7 separate regions of the Homo sapiens genome follow, and regions 1, 2, 3, 4, 6 and 7 are each linked to region 5. Evidence: promoter capture Hi-C in 16 types of primary human blood cells and fetal thymus (Javierre and others, 2016). All regions are on one chromosome and are shown on one strand. The core of a region is centred on a gene start or on the middle of the fragment in contact, and the rest is flanking DNA. Distances in the headings are between cores, read along the strand shown. Region 1 overlaps KMT2A (lysine methyltransferase 2A). Region 2 overlaps UBE4A (ubiquitination factor E4A). Region 3 overlaps CD3E (CD3 epsilon subunit of T-cell receptor complex). Region 4 overlaps UBE4A (ubiquitination factor E4A). Region 5 holds the start of DPAGT1 (dolichyl-phosphate N-acetylglucosaminephosphotransferase 1). Region 6 overlaps MPZL3 (myelin protein zero like 3). Region 7 overlaps ARCN1 (archain 1 coat protein complex I subunit delta).

Evidence for each region. Contacts are between HindIII fragments. The CHiCAGO score rates a contact against its expected background, and 5 or more counts as called.
Region 1: a fragment that was not itself captured here is called in contact with the fragment with the promoter of DPAGT1 in region 5 in 1 of 17 cell types (non-activated CD4 T cells); the score reaches 5.2 in non-activated CD4 T cells.
Region 2: a contact is called between a fragment that was not itself captured here and the fragment with the promoter of DPAGT1 in region 5, in 1 of 17 cell types (total CD8 T cells). The highest score is 6.2, in total CD8 T cells.
Region 3: a fragment that was not itself captured here is called in contact with the fragment with the promoter of DPAGT1 in region 5 in 2 of 17 cell types (naive CD4 T cells and non-activated CD4 T cells); the score reaches 7.2 in naive CD4 T cells.
Region 4: a fragment that was not itself captured here is called in contact with the fragment with the promoter of DPAGT1 in region 5 in 4 of 17 cell types (fetal thymus, non-activated CD4 T cells, naive CD4 T cells and 1 more); the score reaches 6.6 in fetal thymus.
Region 6: a contact is called between a fragment that was not itself captured here and the fragment with the promoter of DPAGT1 in region 5, in 1 of 17 cell types (activated CD4 T cells). The highest score is 5.3, in activated CD4 T cells.
Region 7: a contact is called between a fragment that was not itself captured here and the fragment with the promoter of DPAGT1 in region 5, in 4 of 17 cell types (naive B cells, total CD8 T cells, naive CD8 T cells and 1 more). The highest score is 7.5, in naive B cells.

The regions. Positions count from the first base shown.
Region 1 is chr11:118,439,695-118,442,394 of GRCh38, forward strand. The region is part of intron 1 of KMT2A (lysine methyltransferase 2A); the gene reads left to right. Among named protein-coding and RNA genes, the nearest start is that of KMT2A, 4.6 kb to the left of the region's middle. The HindIII fragment of the contact is 2,419 bases long and covers 130-2,548 here.
Region 2 is chr11:118,396,878-118,399,755 of GRCh38, forward strand. It overlaps UBE4A (ubiquitination factor E4A), which reads left to right. Exons shown (of 20, transcript NM_001204077.2): 20 at 1-2,334. All of the region lies in intron 3 of LOC100131626 (a long non-coding RNA gene), which reads right to left. Among named protein-coding and RNA genes, the nearest start is that of ATP5MG, 3.3 kb to the right of the region's middle. The HindIII fragment of the contact is 232 bases long and covers 1,230-1,461 here.
Region 3 is chr11:118,309,074-118,311,773 of GRCh38, forward strand. The region is part of intron 4 of CD3E (CD3 epsilon subunit of T-cell receptor complex); the gene reads left to right. Among named protein-coding and RNA genes, the nearest start is that of CD3E, 5.7 kb to the left of the region's middle. The HindIII fragment of the contact is 2,816 bases long and covers 1-2,700 here.
Region 4 is chr11:118,360,735-118,363,434 of GRCh38, forward strand. The region is part of intron 1 of UBE4A (ubiquitination factor E4A); the gene reads left to right. Among named protein-coding and RNA genes, the nearest start is that of UBE4A, 2.5 kb to the left of the region's middle. The HindIII fragment of the contact is 2,349 bases long and covers 137-2,485 here.
Region 5 is chr11:119,100,603-119,103,302 of GRCh38, forward strand. It overlaps DPAGT1 (dolichyl-phosphate N-acetylglucosaminephosphotransferase 1), which reads right to left and starts at 1,251. Exons shown (of 9, transcript NM_001382.4): 1 at 893-1,251; 2 at 416-536; 3 at 28-241. The coding sequence starts at 1,053. It also overlaps a transcript of C2CD2L not described here. RefSeq lists enhancers at 379-1,092, 904-2,103, 1,286-1,595, 1,807-2,519. The HindIII fragment of the contact is 9,998 bases long and covers 1-1,619 here.
Region 6 is chr11:118,239,082-118,241,984 of GRCh38, forward strand. It overlaps MPZL3 (myelin protein zero like 3), which reads right to left. Exons shown (of 6, transcript NM_198275.3): 2 at 1,130-1,296. Among named protein-coding and RNA genes, the nearest start is that of MPZL3, 12 kb to the right of the region's middle. RefSeq lists enhancers at 1,962-2,903, 2,430-2,499. The HindIII fragment of the contact is 2,435 bases long and covers 437-2,871 here.
Region 7 is chr11:118,575,283-118,577,982 of GRCh38, forward strand. The region is part of intron 1 of ARCN1 (archain 1 coat protein complex I subunit delta); the gene reads left to right. It also overlaps a transcript of IFT46 not described here. Among named protein-coding and RNA genes, the nearest start is that of ARCN1, 4.2 kb to the left of the region's middle. The HindIII fragment of the contact is 2,250 bases long and covers 170-2,419 here.

The DNA.
Region 1 (2,700 bases), core at 89-2,588, 660 kb before region 5:
GGTTTTTGTCTTTAAAACTTTTTCCTGAACAGTAGTTGCTGCTTCATTATGAGAAGAGTGGTTGACTCCTTACATTAAACTTGAGTATTTTTTCTGAATTGGACTTGAATGAGCTCTGTTCCATGGGTAAGCTTTTTATGTGGTGTTTGAGGCAATCCAGTATGAGTTGATGGTATGCATTGAGTAGTGGTAAACCTCTGAGCTGGTAGTTTTCAGTGTAGAAGCAAGCACTTTTTTTTTTTTTTTAACATAGCCTTACTAATCAATGATAAAGTTCCAAAAGGGAAGTTTAGGGTTCACCCTGGGCTGACATAGAATTCTAAAGACTGCTTCTCAGAACTCACTCATAGCTCTGTATCAAGTCTTATCTGGATTCATGAAGAAATGGTTATATGATCCAAAATGATTCTAACCTCTTTAAACTCTGGTTCGCCTTCAGTGAATAATGACTATAACTTGCCTATGTAACAACACCTATGTTAATACTTCTAAAACTAGGTAACAGAACTTCCAGATGACTTTGCTGTTTGAACTCCCTTAGCCATAGGAGACTTGTCCTTCACTGCTGTTGGTTCCTAACTTCCTTTGTATGACAATTAGGAAGTAGAATTGAGGTTTTGTTTTATTGAGCACTGTAAGAAATCAGAGGTCCATTTTTTGCCTTTCCCCTTCCCTCTGTAGTGTCAGTATCCCATTTTTCTAAGGATTCTCTCAGGTAATGTTCATACTACTGTACTTTGCCATCTAAATAAACATAGTACAGCAGCACCCTTTCTGTTGACTAGAAGTTAGGCTGTTGTAATAATAAACCCCTGAAACAGTGTGTTTATCAGTAACTAGTCTTCGTTTATTAATGTCATAATCCAGTTACCTTCCCTACTACTTCACAAAATATTAAAAGCAAAATTTCCATCCTGATCATAACATAGCAAACTTTAATTAGATACAAATTGAAACTGAGTTACAGCATTGGTGTGTATTTATTTTCACTTGAAATTGCAGTTTAGTTCATGTGGACTGAGACAGGCTTTTGGATTGGACTTGAAAAGATAGTACTCCTGCAGCTGAAAGGTAGTAGGAGAGCGTGATTTTTTTTTTTTTTTTTTAATGTTTACTGGTCATGTATGTACCAAGAGTGGGAGTTGCTCCTTCGTTGCCTTCACAGCTAGTCCTAAGATTGGCAGAAGGTAAATGAAGGAGGGAACACAAGCAGAGTGGAGTGCACGAAGCCTCCGAGTAGAAGTCAGTGGATGTGGGCTCTCATCTCCGTTACTGAACAGTTATGAGACCCTGGGCAAATTCACTTTTAACCTTAAATTTCTGATCTGTAAAATGAAAAGTTTGGACTAAATAGCTCATGAATCTGTTCTGTGTCAGTATTATGATTCCTTTCTGTTGTATTAAACTTTTGGTCAAATCAGAATTTCTTATTCTGAGTTTATTTCAAAAGTCAGAGTCAAGTGAGACGATTTGATAATTTTTGTTTTTTTTTTGAGTCAGGGTCTCACTATGTTGCCCAGGTGCATCTTGAACTCCTGATCCTCCTGCCTTAGCCTCCTGAGTAGCTGGGATTCTGTTTGGTAATTTTTAATATCAGATTATACATTTGCCTATATAACTGGCATTATTATTAGGAGGAGAAATTTCAACTTGGAAAGTTTTCGTTGTGTGGAAAAAACATAAGGACTTTGGGGAAGTTGACCAGTTTCATTTATAAGAAAAATGAGGATAAAGTTTTTACACATAGTTCTGAGAACCTACAGAATCCCAGGCATTATCTGGTGTTTAGAGGCCCTCTTGTTTGGCTAAATGTGTTGTCATTGTTGTGAATTCCAGACTATCCAAAAGAGAAGTTATTTTCAGTCTAGGTGGTATATTCCTGTAGGTGTATGAATTTTGAATGAAAAGAAAAATCCAATACATCAATGTATTTATAAATCTGAAGTGATAGTACCTACTTCATAGGATGTAGTTATTAATATGTTCTGAAATGGTTTATACTGAGCATTAGAAATTCAGTCTTTAGAACTTTTCTTCCTCTGTGACTGAAAACCAGATGACATGTCCCCATCTTTCACTTCCATTTAATTATCTTAAGGCACATACTCCTGGAGGAAATCATCATTCACACAATAGTGATCCATCTTCTTATTGGAAGTTGAGAGAAACTATTCCCATCTTGACTTAATTCTCATCTCTTTGCTCACCTTAGAGCTGTCCTTCCGTGGGGCAGCTGTGCAGACTCTATACCAATTGCCTCCCTTACCCTGTGGCTAGAGGGGGTGGCAACAGTGCTTTGCTTGCTCAGAGGCATAACAGACTGCAGTGCCTCTCTCTTTTGGAAACTCGCTGTGTTTTAATTGTAGGTCTCCTAATTAAGATCTCTTTGTGCCTGCCCACATTCCACTAGTGTTGGCACAGAGCTTCAGCTTCCTTCTAGCACTTAACTGAAGGCCTTCAATCGGGCCTTTTGTGAATATCTTGTCTCTTTCCATTCTTCCTCTGCCAAGGTGGAGAGCCCAGTGGCATAGACCTTTGAGAAGGGGGAAGCTTTGTGACTATCACTACTTTGGGAGGAATTTATTCGAGGATTGCTGGGATGGGACCTTCCTTTGTTTGCATATGTTATTTTCAGGGATTAAGAAAGGTTAAATTACTAATGAGTCTGGCATGATGTACCTACATTTTAATCAGATTCTT
Region 2 (2,878 bases), core at 96-2,595, 700 kb before region 5:
AAAAATCCTGTTATCCTGTGTATTTACTAGTCCTCATGATCTAGACTTAACCCCTTTTCTGTGTTACAGAGTAACTTCACATAAAAGCAGATACCTTTAAGTTTGTGTAGACTTCTGAATAAGATGATAGACGAGAATTTTTTTTAAAAAAGGAATTTAAAGGAATCTTGTGCAACTTCTGTTGATAGCTCTTAATTTTGTTATACAGTCTTTTTAATGAGGATTGGTAGGGCAATCCTACCAATTGATGGGGGTGAGGAGACTGTTGGGCCCTTATTCTCTTATGAAAATCTGTTTCTACAAGGACTAGGCCTAAGTAGATTTAGGCAACGGGTATCATATCCATGAAAAATGTCATTTTAAGACACTAATATCAACAGTATATCTCAGTGTGTGAGATATATAAATACACATACACCCCATGTGCTTTTTTGTTGGTTTAGTGTAAACTGAGTACCACTTTATATTTTCTCTTCCATAGTGAGATGTATGCAGTATGTGGCCATGTTTACTAACATACTCATTCTTCACAAAATTCTGAGATTATAAAATGTATATAGTTAATATTTGTTTGAGCTTGTGACCTGACTTCTAAGAGCTACTTCTAACACAGCCTTAGGTCTTCAATTAACAAAGTAGGAAGTTGAGCACAACCTTGTCCACAGCCATTTTAAATATCCACTTAGCCCTGTGTAGTTGGTAGGTGGACACCACTTTCATAAGTGAACTTGAGCTCACTACTCAATTGTGCAGCTTAATATGCTGACTAGGGACATTCCCCTATGGATTATCTTTATATCACTGTCTTTCTAAGCCCAGAGATGTCATAAGTGACAAGAAAAGTGATAGGATCAAGAAATGGGTGTCACTGCTTCATTTGGAACATGTTATTAACTATGGTCTCTTTCAAATAAATAGTAGTTTTATATTTCAACACAAGTTGCTATAAGCAGTCCTTGATGGGTTTTTGATTGCATCAGCTGGAAAGCCTCAAATCTAAGAGGGCTTCCCATCCTAGATATAAAATAGGTGTTGCCTATTGCTGTGCTTATAAAATGAAAAAGGAAATTGAGGACACTTTTGCAAATGCCAGAATGTAAGATTCATTCAGTGTGCTCCCTGGGCCTTTATGGCATGGGTTGACAGGATTTGTTTATTTTCTAAAATTAGCTTCATTCAATATTTATCATCCTCCTTTCCCTCTCTGAGAATGAACTATGTATAAAATAAGCTTCTGCCTATTTGCATTTATCTTCCAAACCCAATCTAGTAGGATGTTCTCATTTTAAAAACGAGGGGAAAAGACCAGAGTTTTTCAGGAGAAAACTGGAGGAAAATGGGCACAAAAACTCAGAAGGCAGCTATTCCCAGCAGCTTCCTAGTTAACAACCCCCATGCTGCCTCCAGTCTTTGTCTGTATTCTTCTGTATTTAACCTTCAGATTGTAAGCCTTTTCTGGCAAGCTTTTCTTCTTTTTTTAAACTCTTTTCCTGAAACTTTTTATGAATGGCTATGGCACCATTAATGCTGCTGAATATCTTTAAACTCTGCACAAGCAAGTGTGTAGCTTAAGGCCACTACTGGTAAGGAAACCAAGTGTCCTCTGTGCCTTTTTTCTTTCTGTGAAGTAATTTAAGAATATCCAAAAAAATTAGACTTTAAAAAGTTATCTTGGTACAACACCGTGTGTATATACACTTGGAAGCTTAAAAAGGTGTTTTGTCTGGAACTTAGAAGCAGCTCTAAATCTAGTAGAGCAGACTTTCTAACATACCTAGTTTTGTGTATTGGCTTTGCTGGAGTATGATAGCAAAATGAAGACTCTTTTACTCAGCTCTGGTATTGCTCATAACTTACCAAGAGGCTAATACTAAACTTGGAAAATTGTTTAAGTATGTTTTATCAAGCAGTCTGGGTTTTGTTTTTTAATATACTTTTTAATGGATATGTGAAAACTGAAGGAAATGTTAAAGGTTTTTTAATGGTGCAAGTGAAGGTGCCAGTTGCTATTTGATATCACACTCTACAAAAGCTTCATTACTTTATTTGATGGTGGTTGCTAAGCAGCCATTGCACAGAGCATAAGTCTACTGGGTGCCTTTACATGCCAGAGGCTGATGCTGCACTGTTGATGTCATGTGAGGAAATAATGCACATGCTCTAACTGCTCAACAGGAAATGAACCTAGAAACAGAAAATGAAAAGGTTGATTGAAATAAAACTTGATCAACGCGACTGTATTTTGAAACATTCCAGGAAGGTTACTTCTTGTCAAACTTGCCTGGCAGTGTTTGTTCAAAACTTGTATTTAATAAATGAACATCTGACTTACAACCTTTGTTATCACTTTATTCCAGTATTAAAAGCTAGTGGCAGTTTCAGAAATCCCCCTGAAAACTTAGAGGATTCTGACGTTTCACTTTTTTTTTAGGTAAGTAACATCAAATATGTGTGACCTGGCTGACCCAGCCTGCCTTACCAGGCCTCTGGAGGGGACCCTGGGGTTACCCTCAGGAGATGAATCTCACAGTATGGTTTTCCTAACCAGCTCTCTTTTGGCTTCACTGTTTTTCTTTATCTGGCCTGAACCCCAGGTCTTTGTAATCATTTGCTGTTATCTTCCCCTTTCTTGCTCCTTGTTTCCATACCCCTGCCATGCAAGATGTCAGCCTAGATTAACTCAGCCATTCCCCTCTGCTGTAATATCCAAACTGCAGACCATTGTTGGAGGAAAAACACAATTTTTAGAATGGTACAACCACAAACTTATCTCTAACGTTGCCCAACAACCCTTCTGTGTGTCCTTCAGCTATTCCAAACTTTGGCCTCCTTCCTCAAATTCCTTCTCATACCCCCCTCCCATTGACCCCTCACAGTC
Region 3 (2,700 bases), core at 97-2,596, 790 kb before region 5:
ATAAGAGTCTAACTGAGCTAGATCAGAATGTTTGAATCTTGGCTCAACTCTCTACTTGCTGGGTGTGTTTGAGTAATTTACCTAACTTTTCTGTGCCACAGCATCATCATGGTACAATGGAAATAATAGTGCTACCTAACTTGTAGGGTTATTATGAGGACCAAATGAGTAATTCATTTAAGGCACTTAGAACATTATCTGACATAAAAGGCAGTAGGAGGGCCGGGCATGGTGGCTCACACCTGTAATCCCAGCACTTTGAGAAGCCGAGGTGGGAGGATCACCTGAGGTCAGGAGTTCGAGACCGGCCTGGCCAACATGGTGAAACTCCATCTCTGCTAAAAATACAAAAATTAGCCAGGCATGGTGGCAGGTGCCTGTAATCTCAGCTACTCAGGAGGCTGAGGTAGGAGAATTGCTTGAACCTGGGAGGCGGAGGTTGGAGTGAGCTGAGATTGTGCCATTGCACTCCAGCCTGGGCGACAGAGCAAGACTCTGTCTCAAAACAAACAAACAAACAAACAGACAGTAGGTGAATTTTAGCTATTAATACATGGAAAGCATGCTGACTATAGATGATAAGCATTAAAGTTTACTGAGCATGTATGTTTTAGGCATTGCTCTAAATATTTTACTTGAATTTCCTCATTTAATTCTTCCAACACCCCTACTGTACAGTTAAGGAAACAAAGCCTCAAATAAATACAGAAATAAACAAAAATAAGTAAACAATCCAGTCCTGGGGATATAAATGCAGATTTAGGCCAAGTGCCATGGTTCATGCCTATAATCCCAACACTTTGGGAGGCCAAGGCAGGAGGCTCGCTTGAGCTCAGAAGGTTGAGGCTGCATTGAGCAAAGATTGTGCCACTGTACTCGAGCCTCTGTGGCAGAGAAAGACCCTGTCTCTGAAAAAATTAATAAATAGAAATTTAAAAATAAAAAAATTTTAATGCAGATTTATATGATACCGAAGTTCATTTTCTCAACCATTATGAAATACTGTTTCTGGATATGTATAAAATCTTTGTGAGCACACATATCTTTTTTTAACTTAACTTTCATTTTAAATTCAGGGGTACATGTGCAGGTTTGTTATATAGGTAAACTTGTGCCATGGGGGTTTGTTGTATAGATTATTTCATCACCCAGGCATTAAGCCTGGTACCTGTTAGTTATTTTTCCTGATCCTCTCCCTCCTCCCACCCTCCACCTTCTGAGAGGTCCCAGTGTGTGTCATTTCCCTCTGTGTTCATGTGTTCTCATCATTTAGCTCCCACTTCTAAATGAGAACATGTGGTATTTGGTTTTCTGTCACTGTGTTAGTTTGCTAAAGATAATGGCCTCCAGTCCCATCCATGTTCCTGCAAAGGACGTGATCTCATTCTTTTTTATGGCTGCGTAGTATTCCATGGTGTATATGCAGCACATTTTTTTATCCAGTCTACCACTGACAGGCATTTAGGTTGATTCCATGTCTTTGCTATTGTGAATAGTGCACAATGAACATACGTGGAGCACATTTCTGTCTAAGCACAGACATCTAGACCCTTGTGTGAGCATGAGTTAAGTCTAAGCTCTGCTACTGAATTTGTGCCAATAAAAGTTGTGAGCAATTTTCTTTACATTTTTTTCAAACAAACACACCCAGCAGAGTATAATGTCTATGTACTTTATTTATGATTTCTAGTTCATTTAACATGTCTAAGAAACATCCGTGTTGAAAAATTATTTATAAATTAAAATAATATAAACTATCTACTGTCCTTATACTCAACTCCCAATTATAAGCAGGTGGAAAAACCTGGAGAATGTTTTGTTTACATTCTGTGCAGTCTTTGTCAGAGGGCTGCCTGAGCAACTGGGTCAGAGTTTAGTTCTGCTCTGGGAGTAGCAGGACCTCAAGAAGGAAAGGAGGAAAGGAAGTAACTTTTTCTTGAGCACCTGCTATGTGTCATTCACTTTCACCTTCATAATCCATTTAATTTTCGCAAAAACTTTGTGAGGTTGGTGTTTTATCTCCATTTCCCTGATAAAGAAGTTGAGGTTCAGCAAAGTTAAATGACTTGCCCTCAGTCACACAGACTAGGGCAGATCCAGGATTCAAACTCAGGGCTTCTGACTCTTGAGTCCAGAGCTCTGTCCCTGACAGCAGCAGCACTGCCTCTCCTCTCTTCCAGCTGTTATGTCCAGACTGTAGCAGAACCCAGTGTTCCAGCCACAAGTTTTCCAGGAAATAATAAAGGACTCCTAGCTCCACCTCCCAGGGCAAAAATGGCTGCTGTGGGAAACACAGGCTGGACCTACGAATGGCATTAGTGGTTTATTAGTTGATTTCAGTTGTCCACACTAATAGGCCTCCCTCTAACAAAAATAATTGAGAGCTGATTATGCTCAGATATAATGTAAAGTGAAGCCACTTTTTATTGGAAGAAGCATTCCCTCAAAACGTGTAGAGTATTTCACATTATTTAAAGGCAAATAGAGAGAAAATTATATGGAATAAGAACAAAGATGTTTCTTCTCTATTATGAGGGACTCAGTTCTGAGAAAGGATTTTAAATTGTAAGAAATAGGTAAGTCCACGAATCAGTGATTCAGTGGTGTGGAGAGCTTTATTTCTGAGAAGGCCAGTAGCGCTCCCTTCTGACAAGCAAATCTAAGACCTGGATGACAGATGACTTCCTGCATTTGGTTGGT
Region 4 (2,700 bases), core at 61-2,560, 740 kb before region 5:
ATAAACAAAAGCTTGTATTAGGAGGAAGTGACAGAATTTTGTAGGACAGCTATTATAGATATAGATCTTTGCAGCAAGTGTATCAGAGTGAAACTTGTTTTCAAGGAGGATATATTTTAAAAGAATCAAATCCAAAAGCTTCTAAGGTTGGTAGCTGTACCATCCCAAAGTGTCTGACAACAGGATAGTGTTGTATCTCTGTATGGCAGTTGAAAATAGGAAAAAAAATACATACATATATGTATGTATATATGTGTGTGTGTGTGTGTGTGTATTTTTTTTTTTTTTTTTTTGAGACAGAGTCTGGCTCTGTCACCCAGGCTCTGCTCTGGAGTGCAGTGGCACGATCTCAGCTCACGGCAACCTCCATCTCCCAGTTTAAAAGTGATTCTCCTGCCTCAGCCTCCCAAGTAGTGGGATTACAGCCTGGCTAAGGTGTGGTGGTATGCGCCTGTAATCGCTTTTAGTGGAGACGGGGTTTCACCACATTGGCCAGGCTGGTCTCAAACTCCTGACTTCAAGTGATCTGTCTGCCTTGGCCTCCCAAAGTGCTGGGATTACAGGCATGACCTACTGCGCCCGGCGCTGAAAATAGGAGATTATAAATCCCGAATGACATTATTGAATATTAAACAAAATATTTAGGTTTCATTTTATCGGACCTTTAGAGTGGGTGATTATCTGGGTACTCTTACTTTGGTAAGTCCATTGAACAAATCTAAACTGGCATCTCCACAAAGGTTCTCATCAAGTGATCAGTCCTCCTTTTTCCTGTAAAATTTTTCTATAAGTGACTACACAGTTTTAGCCCTTTTTTAATGAAAAAAAGTTTGTGCACAGATTTGACATACGTGTGAAAAAGATGAGCTTAGTGAAAGATAGGTGAGAACCTTTTTGTTTTTTACAGATAGTAGAGATGACAACAGAGACTTATTTCCATCCACCATTCTACACATGCCAAGATACCAAAGAACCAGTGTCTAGCCTGGTAGCTTGACCTTCCACTGCAACCTAAGACAAGTAGTAAAGCCCTTACCTTGAAGTAGGGTCATGGGTGATGCTGTTGATTACAAGGAGTTCAGAAAGAACTACATGTAAGATTGAAGCCATTCAATAACTACTTATTTAGGATTTTGTGATTGTGATGTATAATGCCAGACACAGAAGAAAGAATAATCAGATATGAACATGTAATCAGAAGAGCTTACAGCCTAGCAATGTAGAAGATCTGCTTAGAAATACAATGCAGAAAGTTTAAAATCCTAGTAAAAATAGAGGTAAAATGTAGAAAGCTAGTTTCTTTATACAGTGCAACAGTATAGTATTGAGAAAGAAGGAAGTAATGCAGTTTATGGTGATAAATTCTTTTTGTTTCTCTTGATAGTCTTTTTGTTTGTTTGTTTGTTTGAGACAGTTTCCCTCTGTTGCCCAGGCTGGAGTGCAGTGGCAACGATCTTGTCTCACTGCAACCTCCGCCTCCCAGGTTCAAGCAATTCTCCTGCCTCAGCCTCCTGAGTAGCTGAGATTCCAGGTGCACGCCACCATGCCTGGCTAATTTTTTGTGTGTTTTAAGTAGAGATGGGGTTTCTCCATGTTGGTCAGGCTGGTCTTGAACTCCTGACCTCATGATCTGCCCGCCTTGGCCTCTCAAAGTGCTGGGATCATAAGCATGAACCACTGTGCCCGGCCTTCTTGATAGTCTTAAGAGCTTCTCTGTCATATGTCCTATATTCCTGGCTTTCAGCTTCCTTTCTGCTTACGTGTTGCAGGTGATGCATGTCCTTTGTAATAATCTGGACACTTTTCAGTTGTGTTTTAAAAAACATCAAACTGGTTTAGGCATTTAGGGAAATTTTATTGGTTTTTATAACTGAAAAGTCCAGACTTATCTTTCCATCTCTCAATTCTGTTTTCTAGTGTATGTTGGCTTGGTTTTAGGCTAGGCCTTTTCTAAATGGTGTAAAGATGGCAACTCTATCTTACTGGCTTATCAACTCAATCAGGAGAAAACTCACTTTTCCGTAGATTCAGCTGAAGTCCTGAAGCTGGTATTCATTGACTCTGTTAGGCCTCCATAGTGTCTTGTGCCCACTCCTGGATCAGTTGCTTTGGCTGGAAAATGCTGTATTCTTTTTAGCCTGGCCAGACTTGTATGTTCATTCCTGGGGCTAGTGGGTGAGGTCAACCCCTTCTGAACTGGTCAGCCTCTTCTGGATTGAGTGGAGTGGATACCCAAAGGAAAAAAATGAATGTGATGTTTTAGAGAGAGAAATAACAAGAGCTCAATATACTTTTTGCATTCCTCTGGAATTTGTGGTATTTTAGGATGGAAGTAGAATGGTGGTCAGCTAACAATAAGACAATTCTTGGTGTTTTTACATTAACTACAGGTAATAATTAAACTTGTGCGGTAATTACATGGGGAAAATCCCTCTCATTAATTTCAATACTAAATATGGTATCTTTCCCTTTTTTTGCATTATTAAGCTTACTGAAATATACATAGCAAAAAATAAAATACAGAAGGCCAGGCGCAGTGACTCATGCCTATAATTCCAGCACTTTGGGAGGCCGCGGTGGGAGGATCACTTGAGGTCAGGAGTTCGAGACCAGCCTGGCCAACATGGTGATACCCCGTCTCTACTAAAAATCCAAATAACAGTTCAATTCCTTGAAGCAGTAAAGCTTTGAGCTGCACTG
Region 5 (2,700 bases), core at 1-2,500:
AGGGGCAGCAGTGGTAGGACTACCTACCCAAGTCCAGATGCAGGCCAAGTATCGGGCGGAAGGGCTTGGGCACCACAATGGTCGTGTTGCCAAAGTTGGTGAAATAGACCATGAGGAGAGGTAGTGAGGCAGCTGTAGGTAGCAGCAGCTTATGGCGCCAGCGCAGATTCAGTACATCATCCGCAAAGCCCAGGAAGATCATGCAGCAGATGGCAAGGAGGGCACCTATCAGGGCCACAAACTGGGGGAGGCTCGGGCAGGTCCATGACTCAAGCCTGCTCCCATTCCACCTTTTAAGAATTCCTGTCTTTTCTGATAATTTCTTAGCCCCTCCCCACAAGCCCAAATAACCCCAGTTCTCTCAGGTACCTCCCAGGTCCCAGCCACAGGCAATCACCCCCACGAACCCACTTACTTCATGGTGGGGGAATGCCTTACACTGCTCCTTCACAAAGCAGTTCAGGAAGGGGAAAGGGATGAAGCAGAAGAGGATGATAAGGAAAACAGCACCGCTGATCACTCCCTGGGATTCTGGGCTGTGGCCCAGCAGCAAGGGGGCGAGGGGGAAGAGGAAAGGGGGCGTGGTCACTCACTAGTGCAGGTGTTACAGTAACCCAAAGTGGTCTTCTCATTCCCGGTTTTTTATTCTGGTAAGTGGTGAGGGGGGCGGAGGGAGGAAAGCACCACTGCCAGAGTCCCAGATATACCCAAGGGTCCCTACCCATCCTTTCCCCAATGCGAGTAAGTTCTGCTCATCACCTCTCCGAGTTCCAGGCTGCCTGGGTTAGTTCTGAGTCTTCACGTGTGGTCAAGCACCCCGGTTCCCGCCCCTGCCCTAGCCACTCCTTCCTTAGCCCTTGCCCCCTGCCCGGACCCGTGTGCCGCTGCTCACATCTGCTGTCGGCTGGTTTTGTTGAGGTCCTGACCACAGAGGCGCGCAGCAATGAAGTGGCCCCGGAAGGCCGGGATGAGGGTGACTGTGGCCACAAATCCCAGCAGCGAGACGATCAAATTGATCAGCAGCGGCATGGGCAATTCCGAGAAGGCCCACATGGTGACCGGTCAGGGGCCCGGCTCCGCCGCCTCTTCAGGTAACGGGCAAGCTGAGCAGCAGTCCTGAGGCCTCAGCAGTATGGAGTGGCCGCTCCCCACAGGCAGGCTCTTCCCACACCAATCTGAGCAAAACCCAGCAACTCTGACTTGAGCCGCCGTCGGGACACCGGGGAACCTCTCTAAGGCAACCTATGTTCTGCCCCGCTGCACCCGCCTATCTACTGTTTCCGCCCGGATCTTGTTCGCTGAACAACCATTACTGCGGAAGGCGGCGGCCGCCATTTTTAATATGGGCATTAGAGGGTGGGGATGGAAGTGGAAGAGAAGTGTGATTCCAAATTTCATCCTATGTTCAAGAGTAGAATCACCGAGAGAGTACTGGAAACGCAATTAAAGAAAGGCAGCCAAGAACGGATACTTCCCTAACATTATGTTAAAGATGTACTACCCAGAGCGGAAATGCCAATTGCCCGGTTCCAAGATGAATGCCTCCTTGTACCACGTGTCTGACACCGCTCACATTCCGGTTCCACGTCAGTTTTAGCTCCGTCCGCCTCCATAGGTCAAGCTTAAAGGGCCCGTACCTCTCCCTTAATCTGGGATGCCTCCGGCTCCAGGAAGATGGCTATTGAAAGGCAGGGGGTGGGGAGGAGGGACGAGGGTGTGGAGACGCGCCTGTTTCTTGCAGGAAACCTGTTGCCAACATAGTCGGAAGCCAAGGTAAACACAACTCAGTTCCCGGAAACAAAGCTACGATTTGGAAGGATGGTGTAAATTCTAAAGCGTAGATCCTTGAAAAGCCCCTCCCACTCTGTTTTTCTTGTCCTCGATTCTGGTATTTTTTTCTCAGCATCCCACCCACCTTCTGCCCCAGCTGTAGCAGTTAGTTGCCCGGCAACCCAGCGCAGCACTTCACTGAGGGATTGGGAGTACCCTCAGGTCTTGGATTTAACTCGAGACTTCAGCTTGGCCGTGGATCACTGCATTGTACCTAGCTCCCACAAGGAGGAGATGGAGATTTCCAGGCTGAGGCTCTGGAAAGAGCTGAGGAGGGAGAGGAATCAGACCCACAACTGATTTCCTGTGAGTCTGAGGAACTCCCAGTCAGGTTTCTTCCTGTAGGTCACTGTGCATTTTGCTTGGCCTCCTGCAGGTTGCTGTGCATTTTGCTTGGCCTGTTCCCCTGCAAACAACAATTCACCAGCTTTTTTTTTTTTTTTTTTTTTTTTTTTTTGAGACAGAGTTTCGCTCTTGTTGCCCAGGCTGGAGTGCAATGGCGCGATCTCGGCTCACCGAAACCTCCACCTCCCAGGTTCAAGAGATTCTCCTGCCTCAGCCTCCCGAGTAGCTGGGATTACAGGCAGTAGCTGGAATTACAGGCATGCGCCACCACGCCCGGCTAATTTTGTATTTTTAGTAGAGACGGGATTTCCCTATGTTGGTCAGGCTGGTTTGGGACTCCCGACCTCAGGTGATCTGCCCGCCTTGGCCTCCCAAAATGCTGGGAGTACAGGCGTGAGCCACCACGCCCAGCCAGTTCACCAGCATCTTTATTACCTTTCATTCCCCGACAGGCTCTTAGGCGGCAAATGATTTCCATTTGTCAGAGAGGAAGTCACCACCAGTGAGTTAGGGAAAGGACTCCAA
Region 6 (2,903 bases), core at 404-2,903, 860 kb before region 5:
TTGATTTTCTGACCAGCCTTGCAGAGAGCAGCACTAGGAGAGAGCTGCTGTTTCTGACCCAGGAAGCTCCCCATTGCTTGCTCTGTCCTACTTTTTACCAAGGAGGCAGAGCCAAATAAGGCCAGCCACAGTTTCCTGACCACTCAGAATCAAGTGAACTATTTCAAGTCTGAAAAAAAAGTGGGAGGGGAGCATGAATACAGCCTAGCTTCTTTCACTGGAGTCCCCTACCTAGCCTCAAGCTATGTGGCATTCTATAATGGCTCCTAACACAGAATGCAAAGCTTATTTATACATGAAAGTCAAAGAGGACATTTTTCCAGTGAAGGAAATGGGATAAATAAATTAACAATACTTTAAAAAATACAATCTTCCATACAGCTATGACATTCACATTCTTGAATAACATCTATCCTGAGCTAAGGATACTGCTGGAAGCTTAAAGAGAAAAAAATTTTATAGCATTTTAATCTTCAATTAGACACCTACAATGAAACTTGGACCATAAATGTGTTTTATATGTGTGACTAATATACCTCAATAAGGTATATTGCTTCCAATATTGCAAGACCATCTGTCACCAACATCTGTCACCAACACGAGGTGCCACCATTTCCTTCAAAGGCAGCCATATAAATCAATGCAGATGTTTATACACTGGGAGAAAGTGCCAAGATAACTCCACAAAGCGCAAATATGCAAACAGATACACCCATTGAGACAACTTAATATGACAGAAAATGAGCAGCCTTAAGAGAAAGGATGTCCATGACTGGACCCATAGAATTTTTCTATTCAATAGTCCTGAAGGTACCCTTTTTAGTACATTAAATCTGAAAATGAAGCTATGAAATAATGCAAAAAGAAACAACAAAGAGGAAACAAAATTAAACCACATTTCCTCTGAGTTTCTGACAGCTTTTTTCCTGCAGCTTATTTACAGAATTCTTACGTGGGGCCCTGCGTGACCAAATGAATGTCATATAGGATAAAAGTTCATCTATCTCTATTAAAGTAGAAGCCCATCTTCTACTCTAAGATGAGATGGCCTCAGGCATGCCTATGATTTGCAGTAAAACAATTCCAAAACTGTTGACCAAAGGAACATTCCGAAAAAGTACACACTTACTGATACTGTGTGGCTGCTGCTGGGAGGGCGATATGTCCAGTCTATAGTAAGTTTGTCAGTGACATCTGAAGTTGACTTGAAAGTGCATTTCAACTTGATCTTTTCTCCAACATAACCTCGGACATGGGCATCTGCACGAATCTCCAAGGAAAAGACGATATAAACACCTAATCAAAGCAAACCCAAACACTTAAAATGCATTCATGTGGGTGGAATATACAGATGTGAGTGAACAATTATTTTTAGAGCCCTCATCAAAAAGCCAGAGCAATAAATATTAACAACTATCTTCTCAGGCAAGCCCACAAGGGACAAGGAGTTGATATCTGCATTAATCAAAGATAGCATTTTTCAATCATTTTCTAATCTTAAATCACAACTGAATGCTTGTGTAAAAATTTAAAATCTGGTCACACCAGCGTTTTCCCGAATACAGGCTTGTGGTTCAATTAAGTACAAACAATGGGTCTGCCCATGGCTGGCTAAAAGGCAACATCACCCATCCCCTTCCATCCCCCGCAGACACACACACACACACACACACACACACACACACACACACACACACACACACTCTGGGAATATGGCAGCTTTTGTGGTCTAAGGGACTTACCCCAAGTATAGCATGGTTGCATCATGAAGCTACCATTGCCTCATCAACAGCAAAATGAGAATAGGAAGTAAGAATGGGAGAATTTATTTCAAATAATTTTCTAAAACTGCCCCCAAGGTACTATCTAGTTTTTCCCTTTTTCTTAAAGCTGGCTGAGGAATCACACATCCATTAAAAGTAAATCATGGAGAAGAAAACAGAATAGGTAAATGCATTCTAGCAAGTAAAAATAAGGTACCATTTTAAAACCCACTAGAGACTTACGTCTTCCAAAACCACTCATTTATCCAACTCTGACACTTCATCTCTCTGAAAAGGGCTGGCACTTTGTTCTAACCAGTTCCTTCTGCTTTCAGAGAACAAAAACTTATCTTTCCCTACAGGGGCATATTTTAGGAAATGACATTGCCAGTACTTTGTTCTTCCTGCTTCCTTATCTACCTCAAGAAGCCATGAATCTTCTGCTGGCCAAGATAAACAGAGCAGCAAGATTTCAGAAAAGTGCAAACCCACACGCTGTCCTGAAAATCGGCAGTGCTTCTGGTACAGGCAGAATGGTGTTGTGATTGAGCACGCAGGCCACGGCTCCTACACCAGAGGGTCTGGGTTCAAATCCCGGCCCTGTCACCTGCTGGCTCTGCAGCCTTAGTAAGTTACCGTACTTCTTCAGTCTTCTCAGCCTCATGGGAATGATAATAACAGTACTTACCTCAGAAGGCCACTGTGAGGATTAAAAGAGTTAAAACACATACAACACTAAGAAGCCTACCCGAACCAGAGTAAGTGCTCAGTGCGTGTTAGACAGTGTCATTGTCATTATTGCCACCTCTTCAGTCCTGCCCACACACTCTCAACCTTTCCTGTCACAGTTATGAGTCATCAGTTCCACTGCCTCTACCTCTGCCAGCTTTGAATCATTTTTCTTGCTCCTCTCTAGACAATCCAGTCTGTTGACATTCCTTTTAAAAGGAGGAGACCAAAACTGAACCCACTAATAAGAACTCATAAGAATCTGACCCTCCCAAAGATGAAGATTACTTCTGGTCTGCCTATGGCACCCTTTCCGACTTTGCCATGCTAAACCTGTCCTGCCTTCTGTGCCTTTGCAAATGCTGTCCCTCTGCTGGAAAGCTTTTATCCCTCAGTCCCCACTTTCTTAGG
Region 7 (2,700 bases), core at 45-2,544, 530 kb before region 5:
ATTATTTATGTATCTTTTTAATTGTGTTTTGAGGGACAGCAAAGAAAGAAAATGATTCTCTTGAGTTTCCATTGATTTGCCATCTATTTATGTCTTCATATAGAAGTTCACTGCAGAAACTGATAACGGGTGTGTGTGTGTGTGTGTGTGTGTGTTTTAATTCTCTGCAAGCTTTTGTTTTAGAATAGAAATGTGATGGACTTAAAACCCTCACTGAGTAAATTACTTTTCAAGTTTTAGGTTTCGTATGTGGTCTACATTTTATTGTAATCTTCTCTCTGATTTTATCTATAATAGCTTCATATAAATAGAAAAGACAGAACAGTCCTCCCTGACAATTATAGAAACTAGCCTTAATATGACCATGAATTGTGTGTGCATGTATATGTGTATAAAATATTGCGGTGAATTACAAAGGAGAAGGTGACTATAATTCTGGAAGTAAGGGATCCTGAAGCATTTAGAGATTCAAGAAAGAACTTGACTTTTTTTGAGAGAGAGTTGTGCATATTTATCCTGAATTATTATACCACCTGTTATTCTTGTATCTCTCTTGCACACACAATTTGTTATGGTTAGACAATTTGCCTTCTGGCAGCCTAATGTTACTATAAAATATTGTTCCAAAGTGGTTAGAACTGGAGCAGTGGGTATAAAATGGAAGTATTGTACATTTTCTGTCACTGTAGTTGTTTTTTTTTTTTTCTGTTACTGTAGTTTTCAAATGCTTAGACTTACAGAACTTTAAAGACACAGAGCACTTTGGATTTCATGTAAACTAACCTCCTATGTTAGGGATATTTCAATAATCAATTAAGTGACTTATCCAAGGTCACATAATTAGTGGCAAAGGCAGAACAGAAACCTAATTCTCCAGGTTTTTTTACTTGAGGCACTTAACAATTCATGTAGTTAAGTCTGTGTAGGAGAGAGTTGTTATTTAGTCCAAAGATAGTGTACTCAAACCATGTAAGAATTATTAAAAGTTGTTTGGCAAAGCTCAACTTTATGAGGGAATTTTTTTTTTTTTTAACCGTCCTGGAGAGATCATCTAACTTATGGGCCCTCAGTTTTCACATCTGTAAGACAATCAAGGGCTCTTGCAAGTTCCTTTTAGATCTGGAATGTTTTTTCCAAAAATGTTAAAAAAAAAAAAAAAAAAAAAAACCAAAAACTTTGTAATCATATTTATTAATTCTTCCTCAGAGAAAATCAGATCAAATTTCAATAGGGAAAATTGTTAACTTACCTTTTAGTATATGCTATATTTTAATAATTGTTAAACCAGTAAACATTAATGTAAAGAGGTTTATTATTTCAAGAACTTTAAGAAGACAAATGTTAATTTAGGATAGGATAAATTTATCATGTTTAGAGGTGACCATACCTTCTAGCCATATTAGTAGCTGTAACAGAGAGACCTGTGTCAACTGCCTGGAACCTGTAATTTGTGGTGTCCTGGGTGTTCGGAGATTTATGCTATACTTAGTATGGGGAACTATGGTCCTATTTTGGAAGCCTTGTTTTGCTTGTATCTGGATAATGGAATGACTCAAAGAGAGACATATGATTTTACCCTACTTCTTTCTTCATCTTGACGTACTGAAAGCCTGGAATTCTGGCCAGGTGTGGCGGCTCATGCCTGTAATCCCAGCACTTTGGGAGGCTCAGGCGGGCAGATCACTTGAGGTTGGGAGTTTGAGACCAGCCTGGGCAACATGGCAAAACCCTGTCTCTACAGAAAAATACAAAAAATTAGCCAGGTGTGGTGGCCTGTGCCTGTAGTCCCAGATACTTGGGAGGCTGAGGTGGGAGAATCACCTGAGCCCAGAAGGTTGAGGCTGCACTGAGCCAAGATCACGCCACTGCACTACAGCTTGGGCAATAGAGCAAGACTCTGTTTCAAAACAAACAAATCCTGGAATTCATCAAAGCATGATCTAAATTCTGTTTCTTTCTTTCTTTCTTTCTTTTTTTTTTTTGAGGCAGAGTCTCACTTTGTAGCCCAGGCTGGAGTGAAGTGGTATGATCTTGGCTTACTGCAACTTCCGCCTCCCAGGTTCAAGCAATCCTCCCACCTCACTCTCCCCGTAGCTGGGACTACAGACGTGCACCACCAGACTTGGCTAATTTTTTGTATTTTTTGGTAGAGACAGGGTTTTCCCATGTTGACCAGGCTGGTCTCGAACTCCTGACCTCAGGTGATCTGCCTGCCCTGGCTCCCAAAGTGCTGGATTAAGGCATGAGCCACCGCTCCCGGCCTAAATGCTGTTTCTTCTATCAAGTCATCCCTGACTGTACCAGCTGGAAGTAATCTCTTCCTCTGAATTTCCACGCACTTTATCGGTTACTCTCTCATGTTACTTAACACATTCTGCCTCATATTACAGTTATTTGTGTTTGTGTCTTATCCCTATTAAGCTTCTTGTAGGCAGAATGCTAGCCTGTGTCATCTTAATTCTCAGAAAGCATGTTGTATGTATAGTAGATGTTCGATAAATAATTACTCAGTTAATTCTTATAATATCGCAAAAATGGAGATTACCAGTACCTATAATTAGTTTTTGAACATGCTCATCAGTAAAGTGGATGGGCCAGGTGCAGTGGCTCACTCCTGTAATCCCAACACTTTGGAGGCCAAGGCGCGCAGATGACTTGAGGCCAGGAGTTGGAGACCAGCCTGCCCAACATGGCAAAACC